5 separate regions of the Homo sapiens genome follow, and regions 1, 3, 4 and 5 are each linked to region 2. The links are contacts of gene promoters, found by promoter capture Hi-C in blood cells and fetal thymus (Javierre and others, 2016). All regions are on one chromosome and are shown on one strand. Each heading gives the region's core, a stretch centred on a gene start or on the middle of the fragment in contact. The rest is flanking DNA. Distances are from core to core; before and after follow the strand shown.

Evidence for each region. Contacts are between HindIII fragments. The CHiCAGO score rates a contact against its expected background, and 5 or more counts as called.
Region 1: the fragment with the promoter of PCTP here is called in contact with the fragment with the promoter of C17orf67 in region 2 in 1 of 17 cell types (naive CD4 T cells); the score reaches 5.5 in naive CD4 T cells.
Region 3: the fragment with the promoter of MMD here is called in contact with the fragment with the promoter of C17orf67 in region 2 in 1 of 17 cell types (non-activated CD4 T cells); the score reaches 8.6 in non-activated CD4 T cells.
Region 4: the fragment with the promoter of SEPTIN4-AS1 here is called in contact with the fragment with the promoter of C17orf67 in region 2 in 4 of 17 cell types (non-activated CD4 T cells, activated CD4 T cells, total CD4 T cells and 1 more); the score reaches 7.4 in non-activated CD4 T cells.
Region 5: a contact is called between the fragment with the promoter of VEZF1 here and the fragment with the promoter of C17orf67 in region 2, in 7 of 17 cell types (neutrophils, naive CD8 T cells, fetal thymus and 4 more). The highest score is 11.8, in neutrophils.

Annotation. Positions count from the first base shown.
Region 1 is chr17:55,749,801-55,752,500 of GRCh38, forward strand. PCTP (phosphatidylcholine transfer protein) reads left to right here and starts at 1,251. Exons shown (of 6, transcript NM_021213.4): 1 at 1,251-1,444. The coding sequence starts at 1,304. RefSeq lists a silencer at 1,049-1,388. The HindIII fragment of the contact is 1,470 bases long and covers 1-1,321 here.
Region 2 is chr17:56,832,513-56,835,212 of GRCh38, forward strand. C17orf67 (chromosome 17 open reading frame 67) reads right to left here and starts at 1,408. Exons shown (of 8, transcript NM_001085430.4): 1 at 1,106-1,408; 2 at 386-830. It overlaps DGKE (diacylglycerol kinase epsilon), which reads left to right and starts at 1,639. Exons shown (of 12, transcript NM_003647.3): 1 at 1,639-1,748; 2 at 2,266-2,700. The coding sequence starts at 2,284. RefSeq lists silencers at 636-930, 904-1,973 and enhancers at 1,298-1,895, 2,364-2,700, 2,495-2,700. The HindIII fragment of the contact is 8,035 bases long and covers 1-2,700 here.
Region 3 is chr17:55,420,418-55,423,117 of GRCh38, forward strand. MMD (monocyte to macrophage differentiation associated) reads right to left here and starts at 1,418. Exons shown (of 7, transcript NM_012329.3): 1 at 1,253-1,418. The coding sequence starts at 1,278. RefSeq lists a silencer at 1,359-1,818. The HindIII fragment of the contact is 12,161 bases long and covers 1-2,700 here.
Region 4 is chr17:58,518,507-58,521,206 of GRCh38, forward strand. SEPTIN4-AS1 (SEPTIN4 antisense RNA 1) reads left to right here and starts at 1,331. Exons shown (of 5, transcript NR_110810.1): 1 at 1,331-1,471. It overlaps SEPTIN4 (septin 4), which reads right to left. Exons shown (of 14, transcript NM_001368771.2): 12 at 2,492-2,654; 13 at 2,237-2,336; 14 at 1,750-1,979. The coding sequence ends at 1,920. It also overlaps a transcript of MTMR4 not described here. RefSeq lists enhancers at 1-635, 1-82. The HindIII fragment of the contact is 4,387 bases long and covers 1-2,258 here.
Region 5 is chr17:57,986,804-57,989,503 of GRCh38, forward strand. It overlaps VEZF1 (vascular endothelial zinc finger 1), which reads right to left and starts at 1,451. Exons shown (of 6, transcript NM_007146.3): 1 at 1,276-1,451. The coding sequence starts at 1,308. LOC101929185 (a long non-coding RNA gene) reads left to right here and starts at 1,307. Exons shown (of 1, transcript XR_001752716.3): 1 at 1,307-2,700. It also overlaps a transcript of SRSF1 not described here. RefSeq lists silencers at 714-783, 864-1,343, 1,414-1,693 and enhancers at 1,844-1,893, 1,914-2,053. The HindIII fragment of the contact is 4,468 bases long and covers 1-2,700 here.

The DNA.
Region 1 (2,700 bases), core at 1-2,500, 1.1 Mb before region 2:
AGTTATAAAACAGTGGGAAAGTATGTCTAGCCTAAACTTTTGTGCATTTAGTCTAGGAAAATTTCACATCCCTCTTTCCACACCTATAAAGCCAAACAGAACCAGGACTGACTTGAGGAAAGCAATTATTTATCTCTGCTGTGTCTAACTAAGCAAGCTGCCAAATGTGATCATTTGCCTGATTGGAAAATCACATAAATTAAGACTTTGCCATCAACTTTCTTTCAAGTAAGGAAAGAAAAGCATTTCAATATAGTAATGCAAAACAAGTGGAAATTGTTATTGAACATTTACTTGGACGGGCACTGTGGAAAATTATTCCTTGTCCAACCACCTCCTCAGCTGTAACTGGTAGCACAATTCTTGACCCATTTTACAGATTAGGAAACATGAGTTTCCAGAGTTTATTGGCACTCACGTGGCTGTTACATCGTTTTGATGTTCAAACGACCTACTTTATTCAAAGTCAGGTAGTACAGTCTGCTGGTGGGAAATACAGTATTACTCAAGGGACTTCAAAGGAACAAGAAGATGTTTGAGTTGCACAGTGAGCTAAATTATGCAAGTTGCAGAAATCCTAGGTGGATAGTACGACACCTTTCAGATCAGTTTCTACCCTCAAGGGTGGCAACAACCTTGTAGATCCATTATGGATTAGGTTTCTAAACTGTTTTGGTGTTATGAACCCCTAGAGTCTTCTGGGGAATCCAATGGACCTCGTCTCAGAATAATGTTTTACAATGTATAGCAGAAAGAAGAGAAATTATATTGAAATACACTTCTGGCATTTGACCCCTTAGGATTTTTCCAGCATTTCTACTCTGCCCACCTCTCCTCTCATGTCTACCAAAGAGACTTTCTCTACTTTATTCAGAAAGGTAAATGAGAGACACTCAAACAGGTCTGTAGGTTATGGGAGTAGCAGGGAGTATGGGATAGGCTACTGAGGAGCTGTTTTTGAGGTGACATCACTGTCTCCCTTCCTTTTTCCCTTCCCTCTGGAAGCCTCCTTACTTCTCCAGCTCTTCCTTCCTTCCCCACATCAAGTCCAATTTTTCTCCTTTTACTTCTTGTCTATCCTCCTCACTCCTTGCTCAGCCCCGCCCGCTTTTCTAGGCCCGCCCCTCCAGGGCCCCACCCTCAGGCCGCTCCTCCAGTCTAGGCCCCGCCTTCTCCTCAGTTTCCTGCCAATGACGCTGGGGCAGCCGGGGCAGCCGGGGCAGCCCGGTCACCCCGCCCCCAGGCCCACACTAAGGGTGTCCGCGGCCTGCCCTCCAGGCGGAGGAGCCCGGACTGCGGAAGGATGGAGCTGGCCGCCGGAAGCTTCTCGGAGGAGCAGTTCTGGGAGGCCTGCGCCGAGCTCCAGCAGCCCGCTCTGGCCGGGGCCGACTGGCAGCTCCTAGTGGAGACCTCGGGCATCAGCATCTACCGGCTGCTGGACAAGGTAGCGGCCAACCCGCTGGAGGACCGCGGGGCCTAGAATGCGCCGGGGTCGACCTCCCCGCAGGGAGTGCGGGGCGGCAGTCGCGGAAGGGACAGGGGCGCGTCTTCTCCGGCTCAGGAAGGAGCTCCGCCCGGACCCTGTCTCAAGCTCTGGAGCTAGCGCAGGGGCGGTGCCTCCAAGTGACTGCCGTGCAGATCCAGGGGAGTTGGAAGGTCACAGGAGTTCAGCCTCAGGTCAGGCCCGACGGGGCATGTAGTTAGAAGTTAATGACAGTTGAAACGTGGGTCAGCTGGTTCCTAGGCCCGTGCACACGTCTGCAAGGGACGTTGATCCTCACTCTCCAATGCGTGTCAGTGGCATATGGGGGCTGGGGTGGGGGAGGGGCGGTATCTTAGGGCTTGGATATAGGAGGAAAAGAAACAGAACTTTTCAAGGACTGGATGTGCAGGGTGGTGTCAGGGGTTGCCGAGAAGGGCCCTACTGTTTTAGTGACTCGTTTCTTTTGGTTGTTGCCCCTTCCTTCCAAGTTGCTCTTAATAAGTTGAGTCCGAATCTTCAGGCAGGAGTAAAGATGTAGGAGGAATGGGATTGGTTGTTGAAGTCTTTGGAATCAGGTAGCCATCCAGGTGGAAGGCATTGCCCCTGAGGCCTGTCATCCAAGGCTTGTCATCAGTTGCTTTGTGTAATAGTCGCAGCATGGCAAGTAGGTTAAAAGTCGCCTGCAGGTAATGTGGGTGAAACTGAAGTTTCCTAATACAGGACCAGGATATTATAGTGTTAGAGTTAGGAGGATACCTCATGCTCACCTGGTTAAACCCCAGGTTTCATAGGTGAAAGCAACAGGCCTCAAGGGTGAAGTCACTCCTGAAATGGCCCAGATAAGTGAATAGCAGAGGTGGGATTGGAGGGTTCATGATCTTGTGAATGTCAAACATGTGGTTGCCTTTTTAGGCACTTGCATTTTTGTTTACATCAAATATAGTGTTTTTATATTTTAAAACAGAAAACAAACGTTTGCAATATTTAGAAGTTGCTCACCTGTTAAACAGGAATGAAAACTCTGCCTGTCTCATTGCAGGAATGAAAACTCTGCCTGTCTCATTGCAGGGTTGTTAGGGGGTTCAAATCCAATCTGTCAGATATGTGTGAAAATTTGATAGCTGTAAATAACTCTACAATGCACAGGACAGTGACCCCATACCTCTCCCGGGGAAGAATTATCCAGTCCCAAATTGTAATATTGCCAAGGTCAAGAA
Region 2 (2,700 bases), core at 158-2,657:
CATGCAATCACCAGGAAGCAAAGGGCCTATCTCCCAGTTACTGTGGGAGGATAGGACCCTGACTCCCATAACAGCCATCTAACAGGCACTGTCGCCTAACCTTACTTACACTGACCCACCCTTCACAAGTTTCACTTTCCTGACTACTGAGTTCCTGCTCATCCCCTTCACATTCCCTCCTCCTCCCTCTTAAACACCTAGTCACTTCTGCACAAAGTTCAGTTCCGTTCACGAGGTACCTTCTTCCCTATTACAATAGTATATTATTAAAATCTGCTTTACCACTTTTACTAGTGTCTAGCTTTATCTTCTACAGTTAATACAAATATACGCACATACACATGCATATATATGCACACATAATAATATATACATACACACATACACGTATATATACATCTATATGTGTATTCTTAATGAATGTTATGTCTTCTCTAATCGTTTGGAAGATATTATCAAGTATTTCTTTGCAGTTTTCCTATGATCTCTGCGTTTCTTTTCTGTTCCTTTGGTCCCTTGCTTCGGTGTGTGTTTTCTTTCCATCTTTTATGCTAGAGGAAGTCCGCAAGCAACAAGTGGTCCTCGGCTCCCACTCCTATGTATGTATGTAGTAGGAAGGAAGCCGCTGAGTGCAGCTGTGCGCGCCGGGGCGGTGCCTGTGCCTCTCTGGATTCCGTGTTTCTTCGGGGGTGCTGAGCAGCGGTGCTTCCGCGTCCGCGTTCTCCGGGTAGCTGATGTGCTGCAGGCTGCAGCCCGCGTGGTCGCGGCTCAGGTCCGTGTTGGGCTGGTAGGACTCCAGCGGGGAGCGAGCATTCCTCCGGAACCTGGGGCTGGACGACAGCAGCAGGAGGCGTGCTCCCATCTCCGGTAGTCCCCGGCTCCCGCTGCTCCCCTTTCTCCCCGGCCTCGGGCGCTGGCGGGCGCGGGCGAGGGGGTAGCGCAGGGGAGGCCCGCCCGCCACGGCAGGGGGCGGAAACCGCGGCCGGGCTCGGGGTCAGCGGCGACGAGCGGGCGGCTGCCCCGCTCGCCCTCGGCCTCCGCGCCCGCCCGCCGCTCCGCAGCGGAGGAGCCCTCAGGTTTGCGTTACTGCGGCCGCCACACCTACCTCAGCCCGCCGCGGCCAGGTCGGGCGGTGCCGCGCAGGCCGCCTCCCCCCCTCGCTTCCCAGTCGGCTTACGCATCCCCGGCGGCGGCGGCGCCGGCATCGGCTAGAGGTTCGGCTCAAGTCGGGGGCACTCGTGTCTGCGCCGAGCGGCGGGCGTGAGCGCGGCCCCTGGGCCCCGCGCGGCGCGGTGCTGCGAGGAGGATCCTCGTGGCCTTGCCCCGCCGGCGGCTTTCCAGAATTTTCTACGATTACGAAGTTTTGGCATTCAACCCTCCATCCTCTCAAACGCCCCACTGTTACTCCGCCCCCTTCCCCTAGGCCCCGCCCCCAGCCGCAGTGCCCTGCCTCTTCCATCCGTCTCCAGCCTCCTCCACGGCCCCGCCCCCTCAGGCCGGTCCGTCTCCCCTCCCACCTCACACCTCCGCCCCGCCCGTCAGCCCTGGCTCCGCCCAGCCACGGGGCTCGCCGCCACAGGCCCCGCCTCCAGCTCGCGGCCCCGCGCGCCGGATCGGCGTGCGTGCGGCTGGAGCCTTAAGCGTTTCCCCCGCCCGGCTTCATCCCTGCTGGCGGCCCAGCGTCGTTCTCCTCCTGCGCGAGGCGGCCAAGGCCTGCTGGCCCGGAGCCGCGCCTCCACCCGCGCGAGGTAGGGCTTCGAGGACCGGCGCGGCGCAGGTCTCCGGAGGCCTCCCGAGAGGGGCTAGGGTCGCCGGGCCGCGCGTGGGAGCGGGTGGGGCCCGGGAGGAGACGGCGCCCCGGAGGGGAGTGCGAGGCCTGGGCCGACGGTTACGGGCGCCGACCGGCGTTGCCTGGCCTGAACGCCCGGCCTTTCGGTGGAGGGCAGCTTGCCCCTGTATGTTGCGCCCTTCCGTGGGTCAGACCGGCGGCAAGGTGAGGCGGCGGCGGCAGCAGCAGCCGCCTTGGGCTCCTGGACGCGCTCCCGAGGTGGGGCGGGTTGGGGAGTGGGGATTGGAGCGTGATGGCTGGACGTCGCCTTCTCGGCGCGGCAGGTCCCGGGAGACGGGGGGACGAGGCGCAGTCCCGCCCTCGGGAGAGCGGAGCCACCTTCACTGAGGGCGCCCGGTTTGGCCCCGGAAAGGCAGGAAGGGGGCGGGGAAGGGATGGCGAGCTCGGGGTGCACCGCCTGTTTCTTTTCTGGTTAGGTATCGTCCTTGGAGAAGATGGAAGCGGAGAGGCGGCCGGCGCCGGGCTCGCCCTCCGAGGGCCTGTTTGCGGACGGGCACCTGATCTTGTGGACGCTGTGCTCGGTCCTGCTGCCGGTGTTCATCACCTTCTGGTGTAGCCTCCAGCGGTCGCGCCGGCAGCTGCACCGCAGGGACATCTTCCGCAAGAGCAAGCACGGGTGGCGCGACACGGACCTGTTCAGCCAGCCCACCTACTGCTGCGTGTGCGCGCAGCACATTCTGCAGGGCGCCTTCTGCGACTGCTGCGGGCTCCGCGTGGACGAGGGCTGCCTCAGGAAGGCCGACAAGCGCTTCCAGTGCAAGGAGATTATGCTCAAGAATGACACCAAGGTCCTGGACGCCATGCCCCACCACTGGATCCGGGGCAACGTGCCCCTGTGCAGTTACTGTATG
Region 3 (2,700 bases), core at 168-2,667, 1.4 Mb before region 2:
TGACTGATAAGCAATATATTCAGAAGTCAATCCAAGTCTTCAAGCTGATCCCCTTCCTGGTGGCCCAGACCATGGCAACTCTTCTGTGCATTTGTTGCCTCCTTTACCCTTTGGGACTGGGGGAGGAATGAGATGGGTGAGAGGGCAGTGAGGGCATGGAGATTGGAAAGAAAAAAAAAATGTGTACTTTAAAATTCTGAAATAAAAGGTAGTGTCTAAAAACTCAACAACCTTCTTGGAAGATTTCATGCATTTCTTAAAATTTCCCCTGTCACTGCACCCCCAGCAAACATGCTGGTGGTGAAGGTCCGGGAATTCACACAAAGGGATGCAGTTACCATATGCCCTGGAGAGGTGAACTTTCACCCACTTAAACAGAAAAGAAAAGCCCGGAGTTCCTCTCAGAGTCATGGGCTAACCTCCATCCATTGTTAGACGGTGGAGCCCCAGAGGGGAGTAAGGCCACGGCGCCCCCCAGCCCGGCATTTCCACCAGCTCTACAGTGAATGAGCAGTCGGCCAGCCTTCCGGTGGCGCCTCCACGGTTCCTCCTCCTCGTTTCCTAACACCGGCGCCTCCACAGCAGGTCTCGCCACCCGAAAGCTAACATGCCCCTTCGCAGAGCCCAAAAATAGCACCGCCCTGGGACGTTCAGCTGGAGAACCAGCAAGGCCCCTACACGGCCAGGCAGGGCTAAGCTGGCGGAGCGTGCCTCAGTTTCCCTGTTGCTAGGGCCGTTCACAAAGCACCCAAAATGCCTAGCACCCCGCTTTACGACAAATCTCTCCGCAGGGCGCCACCCCGTTCCGCGCGCCCCGGGAGACCCCCACCCTGGAGGTAAAGGGATGGAGGCCAAAGCCAGGTCGGAGGACTCGGGGGCGGTGCCCGGGGCTGGGGTTCGGGTTCCCAGAGAGAGCCAGAGCCCAGCCTGTATGGGGGTCGGGAGGGTGAGCCCCAGGAGCAAAGGGATCCCCGGGAAGGAGGACAGGCTTGGAGTCCCGGGGCCGGGAATCCATCTGAGGTCCGCAGATCGCGAGGGGAGACCCGGGTGAGGCAGGAGCTCCCATCCTTGGAGGAAGGGGATCGCCCAGGGACAGCAGGGTGGGGAATCCCCAGGGAACTGATCCCTGGCCAAGGTGCGGGATCCACCCAGGATGAATCCAGGTGAGGAGCCGGGAGCCGTGCGCTTAACGGCGGGATTTGGGAACCCGCTTCTGACACGGGCAGCGGGACCGGGACGCCATCCCTCTCACCGCTGGAATCGATTCTTGAACCGCATTGATCCTCTGCTCCTCCTCGGGGGCCAGGAGCTCCGTCTCGTCAGCACCGGCGGCCGGGCGCGCGGCCCTCATGGGCTTGGGCTGCTCCGGAGGCCGCCTGCGTGTCCAGCGGAACCCTTCGGCCGGGTAGGGTCGGAGTGGGCCAGGCCGGGGGTCGGGACAGGGCTGGGGCCAGACCGGGCGGCTGGGGGCGGGAGGGAGGCCGCTTCAACGGCCCCAACACCTCCCGCCTCCCGCCTCCCGCCTCCCCGGCTCCTCCGCCCCGGGGCTCCTGCGCCCCGCCCCGGAGCCCGGCTCCGCCCCCGCCGGCTCTGTTCGCCTGCGTGCACCCGCGGTCGCCGGCGCGTCAGCGCGCCGGTCAGCCAATCGGCACCCCGAGCGGCGCGGCGGCTACGCTGCCATTCATTCCCGCCGGGCTCGGGCAGCGAGGCGGGGCCTCGCTGGGGAGGGGCGGGGCGAGGGGAAGGGGAGGAGCGCGGGAACGCGGCGCCCTTCTGTAAGAGACAAGTTGGAGAAGAGATCGAGGGAGGGAGAGAAGTGGTGAAGGAGGAGATGGACCAGGAAATCTTAAAAGCATTGTGAAGAAAATAGCAGCAAACAAGCAGCCCTACCTCATTCATTTTTTCTTCATCATTAATTTCTCCATCCCTCCTTTCATTTATTCCTTCATCATTTTGAGGGCCAGCTCCCGCGAGGCTATTGTGAGAGGATCCAGGGCAGAATGAAAAACCTGTCCTTGTCTGACCCTTGAGGGAGTTGAGATCTCTGAGCGTCTTCTAACTCTGAGATTCAGTGAGATCCACAAAAGGAGGAATCCTCTGCAAGGATCCTTTTATGTTATCCTCCAGTTTATTTTTTATTTTATTTTATTTTTATCCAGGCAGCTTTCAAATAAACGAGTTGACTTGAATCAGGGTCCTGTCGCTAAACCTAAACTCAGAGGGCTTCCTGGAAGAGAAGTTCAAATAAAAATGAATGAATGGGCCAGGTGCTGTGGTTCATGCCTGTAATCCCAGCACTTTGGGAAGCCAAGGTGGGCGGATCACCTGAGGTCAGGAGTTCGAGACCAGCCTGGCCAACTTGGTGAAACCTTGTCTCTACTAAAAATACAAAAATTAGCCGGGAGTGGTGGCGGGCTCCTGTAATCCCAGCTACTCGGGGGGCTGAGATGGGAGAATCACTTGAACTTGGGAGATAGAGGTTGCAGTGAGCCGAGATTGCACCACTGCATTCCAGCCTGGGTGACAGAGTGAGACTCTGTCTCTCTCTCTCTCTCTCACACACACACACATACACACAGAATGAATGAATGGGTGATTTGTCGAGCCTTTCCAGGATCACTGATGGAAGTTATATGTGTTCCCTTCCAGGTATCGTGTCCATACCCAGCCCCCAGCCTGCAGGCTAGAGACTCTGAAGTG
Region 4 (2,700 bases), core at 81-2,580, 1.7 Mb after region 2:
TGGGTTCCTCCAACACTCACTTTGTATCGATAAACGACCCTGCAGTTCTTCACGACCTGCATTGCGCTGGCAGTCCTGAGTGAAGAACTCTCCTCTCATCCCAGAGATGGGAAACCTGGATCTGAGACTGCCAGCTAGCTGCGGCCTCCTAGTCTGTAAAGCGAAGGGAGACCAGGACGCTCCCAAGGACCCGGCTTATCGCCCCTCCCTTTCCTTCCCGGGGACCCAGAACAGACCACAAGACGGAGGGTGGCCGCTGGAGGTCGCCGTGGCCCCGCGATACCACCAACCGACAGAAATGGAGAACAGTTGATTCAGATTCAGCTGATATTCTCAGGTCTGGAGCGGGCCTGAGCGCTTTAATTAGCCCGGGGCTAATGTCCTCACCCATCTTTGTTTATAGAACGTTGAAACTCCAGTACTGTTGGTAAGTTCCAGGAAGACAGGAACTTTGCACTACTTGAACTCCAGGGTCTAGAACAGCCTGCAATCTAGCAGATGCTGTAAATTTTTTAATTAAATACTGAACTCCTGTAGGACGGTGATTGTGTTTTTATTCATTCCCAGCACTTACTATAGTGTTTGGTGATTACAATGGCTGCAGCATTTGTTCAAAGCTCTATCACAGGCTTTCTACAGTGTAGAGCTTAACCTGCCTATCCCTTTTCCCAGATCAGGGGAAACAGAAAGTCAGGAGGTTGCACGCAGTTAATACCTTGTGTTTTCCCAAGGGCAGGTATCAAATACAAAACTGCGTCCGCCGCAGCTGGAATACGCACAGGCATCAAAATGGGGCCTTTTGGGCCGGGCGCGGTGGCTCATGCCTGTAATCCCAGCACCTTGGGGGGCCGAGGCGGGCGGATCTCAAGGTCAGGAGATCGAGGTCATCCTGGCTAACACGGTGAAACCCCGTCTCTACTAAAAATACAAAAAATTAGTCGGGCGTGGTGGCGGGCGCCTGTAGTCCCAGCTACGGAGTCTTGTAGTCCCAGCTACGGAGCTTGCAGTGAGCCGAGATAGCGCCGTTGCACTCCAGCCTGGGCGACAGAGCGAGACTCCGCCTCAAAAAAAAAAAGGGCAGGGGGGACTTTTGGACAGTCCTTTAATATTGGGGAAGTGCCCCAAATTTCTTTTTCTTTTTATTTTTCTTTTTTTTTTTTGAGACGGAGTCTCGCCCTGTCACCCAGGCTGGAGTGCAGTGGCGCCATCTCAGCTCACTTCAAGCTCCGCCTCCCGGGTTCAGCCATTCTCCTGCCTCAGCCTCCCGAGTAGCTGGGACTACAGGCGCCCGCCACCACGCCCGGCTATTTTGTATTTTTAGTAGAGACAGGGTTTCACTTTCTCCTTAGCCAGGAGAAGTGCCCCAAATTTCTAATCCCTTAAGCCAGGACCTTGGTAGCCCTGAGGTGTGATGGGAGACTCTGGACAGAACCACCTGTTGACCTATCCAGGACCCAAATATGCACCACAGGTAGGAATCTTTTTATTACCAAAGGTACTGTATGTGTGAAAGATGGAGAGAGACCCAGACCCCAGATAACAGAGGCATGATAGATATGATCGTCAAGATGGAGAAGCCAGGCTGGATTCTAAGCAGGGACTTAGAAGGGGAAAGGAAGTGGAAAGTTTTCCCCACTCTCCCTTCCCTACTAAAAGCCAGAAACCAACATCTTCTACCATTAGCCTTTCAAAACTGGGTCCCAGGATCTTGATCTCCAGGTCATAAAAATACACACAGGGACACCAGAAGCCACCTACAGATTTATTAAACTTTATTTCCTCTGAGTCTCTGGGCAGTCAGCAGGGATGTAAGGCGAAGTGGCAGTAGCTGAAGGGGCCTGAGCAGAGCTGGTGCTGGGAGGGGCCGGCATGGACAGGAAGAAGAGGAGGAGATTTAAATATCCAGGGCTGAAAGCCAGTTAATAGTTCTCCTTCATCTGTTTTTGTATTTTGTGTAGCATCTCCTGCATCCGCCGCAGCTGGAATAGGCACAGGCATCAAAATGGGGACTTTTGGAGAGTCCTTTAGTATTGGGAAAGTGCCCCAAATTTCTAATCCCTTAAGCCAGAACCTTGGTAGCCGTGAGGTGTGATGGAGACTCTGGACAGAACCACCTATTGACCTATCCAGGACCCAAATATGCACCAGAGCCAGGGATCTTTCTATTACCAAACAAAGAGATACCAACGTTGGTGATCAAACAGGAGACCTCCCCTATACCCCATACTGCTCTCACCTCCTCATCTTTCTCTCGGATAAGCTTCTCAGTTTCTGGATCTGTCCCTGGTGGGACAGCAGGGATGGGGAAGTCGGTACCACTTTCCCGAGTCAGTTTGCTAAAGGGAGAAAAGGGTTGATAAGGCGAGGAGGACCCCAGCACCCGCTTAGATTGAGCCCAGGGCCTATAGAAGAACAAAAGTAGGGCTTGGTCTCACCCAAGGCTAGGCTTGGGATCTCCCCCTGCCAGCTTTGTCCTGGCTTCTGGTCATACTTGCGATTCCGTTCCTTCACCACCAGGCGGGTCATGCTCTGGATGCACTGTGCCCGGTAGTTCTCATAATGTGTCTCCCGTGTCACATCCTTCAGGTCCTGCATGTGGGTACGTACCAGCATTGTCCTCAGCTTCACAAAGTCGCAGTGCCCTGGGTTTTCCACTGCATAGCAAGGCTAGGGGTCAGCCAGAGGCATAGGTAGGGGAGA
Region 5 (2,700 bases), core at 201-2,700, 1.2 Mb after region 2:
GTTAGTTTCAAAAGGTATCAAGCGCCCCAGCTACGCGTTTGGGATTTCACGAAGTATTCAAAGGAAAATAACTCAGAGAGGCGGGAAGAACGCACTTAAAAGTGACGAGCTTCCTAACCTCCTCCAGTTCCGAAGTTTCCCCGTGAGCTCATCGCTACTGCCCACTGAATGCTTCGTTTTGCAAACAGAAACGAAGTAGGAAAAAAATAAGTTCCAGCCTAGATCTGCCAAACAGGGGTCCCCCATCTAAAGTGGGCGGGCAAGAGAATTGCCAAAACACATCGGCTACAGTCACTTTCAAGTTTCTTGCAAAAAAGCGAAGACCAACATCCCAGAGAGTGACTCATCTGGGGGCTTTGTAAGCGGACTTTGTTTGCTCTCTCCACTTGGTTGGAGGAAACGTTCGAGGTGGGCGAGAAAGAAAAGCGCTTCGGGAGAAGGTCGGGCCTCCAGGAGTCCCGGCCCCCACCGCTCCCCGCCTGCCCCGGGCCGGCCCGGCTGGGGGATTCCCCAGGCTGAATGGGACGGCGGGAGAGCTGGACAGAGGGAGAAGGTGTCAGCTGCCAAGGCTCGGCTGAGACTTGGGAAAAAAAAATGTAAATCCAGTGAAAAAGTTTGGGGAGGGGATACACACTCACAACATCCGCCCCCCCAACTGGGTAAACACGAGAGGGGTGGTGGCGGTGAGGGGGAGTGGCGGGGAACCTGGGGATACCCGCTATTCGCGGGGACACGGGAGGGGGTCAGAAAGTCAACACACGCACGCACACACACAAAAAGACGAGGAAGGTGAAAAGAGAACAAGCGAAAGATGGATGAAGTGGCGGGGAGGAGACTCAGGGCAGGACCTGGGGACCTCCTCACCCCACCGTGGGGGACCGGGCCGGCACGCAATGGCCCAGCAGCCCGCGCTATCCAGCGGCCCGGCGCCCTCCTTTCTCTGGGCCGCGGGGTGGTGACAGCGACCGGCCTCCTCCCTTCCCCTTCAGAGCGAGAGGGAAGGGTGTGTGTGAGTGTGTGTGTGTGCGTGTGTGTGCTGGGGGGCCCCCGGGTTCACCCCGCGGCCTGCTATCTCCCCCGCACCCCGTGAGGCCGCCTCCTTTCACCTCAGCAGCCCCGCTTCGCCGGGGCGGGCGGGCGGAAAAACAAAGGGGGATTAAGGCCGGGCCGGAGAGCGGAGCCGGGAGGGAGGGGAGGAGGAGCGCCCGCCCGCCCGCCAGCCCGGGGCCCGGCCCCCCTGTCCCCCCCGTGCCCCCCCGGGGGGGCCCCCAGTACCTGGAACAGGAACGCGGTCCAGTTGGCCTCCATGGCTGCGGCGGCCGACCCCCCTCCTCCCCACTCCCCCCGCTCGGGGAGCCTCCTCAGCCGGAGGAGGCGACAACAAAGCGGCGGCGGCGGCGGCGGCAACGGCAGCGGCGGCTCCTCAACATGGCAGCGCCGAGCGCGGCCACTTCCGGTAACCTCCGGGACGCACCACCGCGGCGGCGAGCGCGGGCGGGGGGGGAGCCCCGGCCCGGCCGCCGCCGCCCCCAGTCGCCCGGACCCCCTCTGGGCGTCCCCGCTGCCGGCTCGCCGCCTCGGAGCTCAGCCAGTGCCCGCTGGCGGTGGGGTCAGGGCCCCCGCGGGGGGGCTGGGGTGGGGCCCGGGGCGGGGATGGGGCGCGGCGTCCCCCCCCGCGGGGGTGTGTGGTGCTGCGGTCCGTGGCTCAGGCAGCTGGAGCAGGGGGAGCTCAGGAGAGAAGATGGAGGACGCCAGGGTCTGGCGCTGGCCCGCTGGGCACAGCTGGGCCGTCTCCCGTGACTCAGACACGGTGTCCAGCACCGTCGCGTCCCTGTTAGACCCTCAGCGGAGGGCACAGGCCACGGCGGACACTCGGCTCTTCAGTCGCTCATGCACAGCATGGTCCCCACCTCCAAACTGGGGGAAGCCCTTTCGACTTCGAGCCTCTCTTCCTTTTGGCATTTCCTCCCCGGCCGGCTAAGCCCTCTGCGCTCTCGCTATGATATGCATCTCATGGCGAGATGGCCTTCCAACTCAAGCAGGGAATCCCACTGGGGTGCAGCCTCAGATCCTCTCAGTGTGGAGGGAAACACTTCCCACGCGTAGAGATGTCATTACTGGGTTATTCTTGGGTGAAGGGCTGAGCCTCCCCATCCTCCCCTTCACTCCAAGATAGGATGTGAAATTCTATCCCAACACCCCTCCTCTCCCGCCAAAAATAAAAACAAGTGAGATAGTATAGACAAATTATTTTAGTCCTTTAGTACAGTCTGTTTCCTCCTTCACCCCCAGAACAAAAATCGAACTTCTGGTTGGACAGCGTCAGATGTCACTGAGGTGACCCCAGCCTGTTTGCAGTTCCAAGTCTTCCGTGTAGGCGTCACTGCTACTGGAACTTTGTAGATGAGGAGCCTGTATGATGATGTCCTGAACATTTCTATCCTTTCCTCACACAGAGGGAAGCTACTGGGAATATCAGAGACAAGCTATTATTAAACAAGTGTCTCTAGTCCAAGACATCTCCTGTGGCAGGGAAATGAGGGGGCAGGCTGTATCAGTGATATTTTTATAAACTCTGGTTTTAGAAAAAATTCTTCAGATGGACGCATTATTTTAAGACTTTAACATTTTCCAAAACCAACTGAATCTTATCCCCTCCATTTATCCCCCTCCAGACACTTCTAATCAAGGTCACCATCT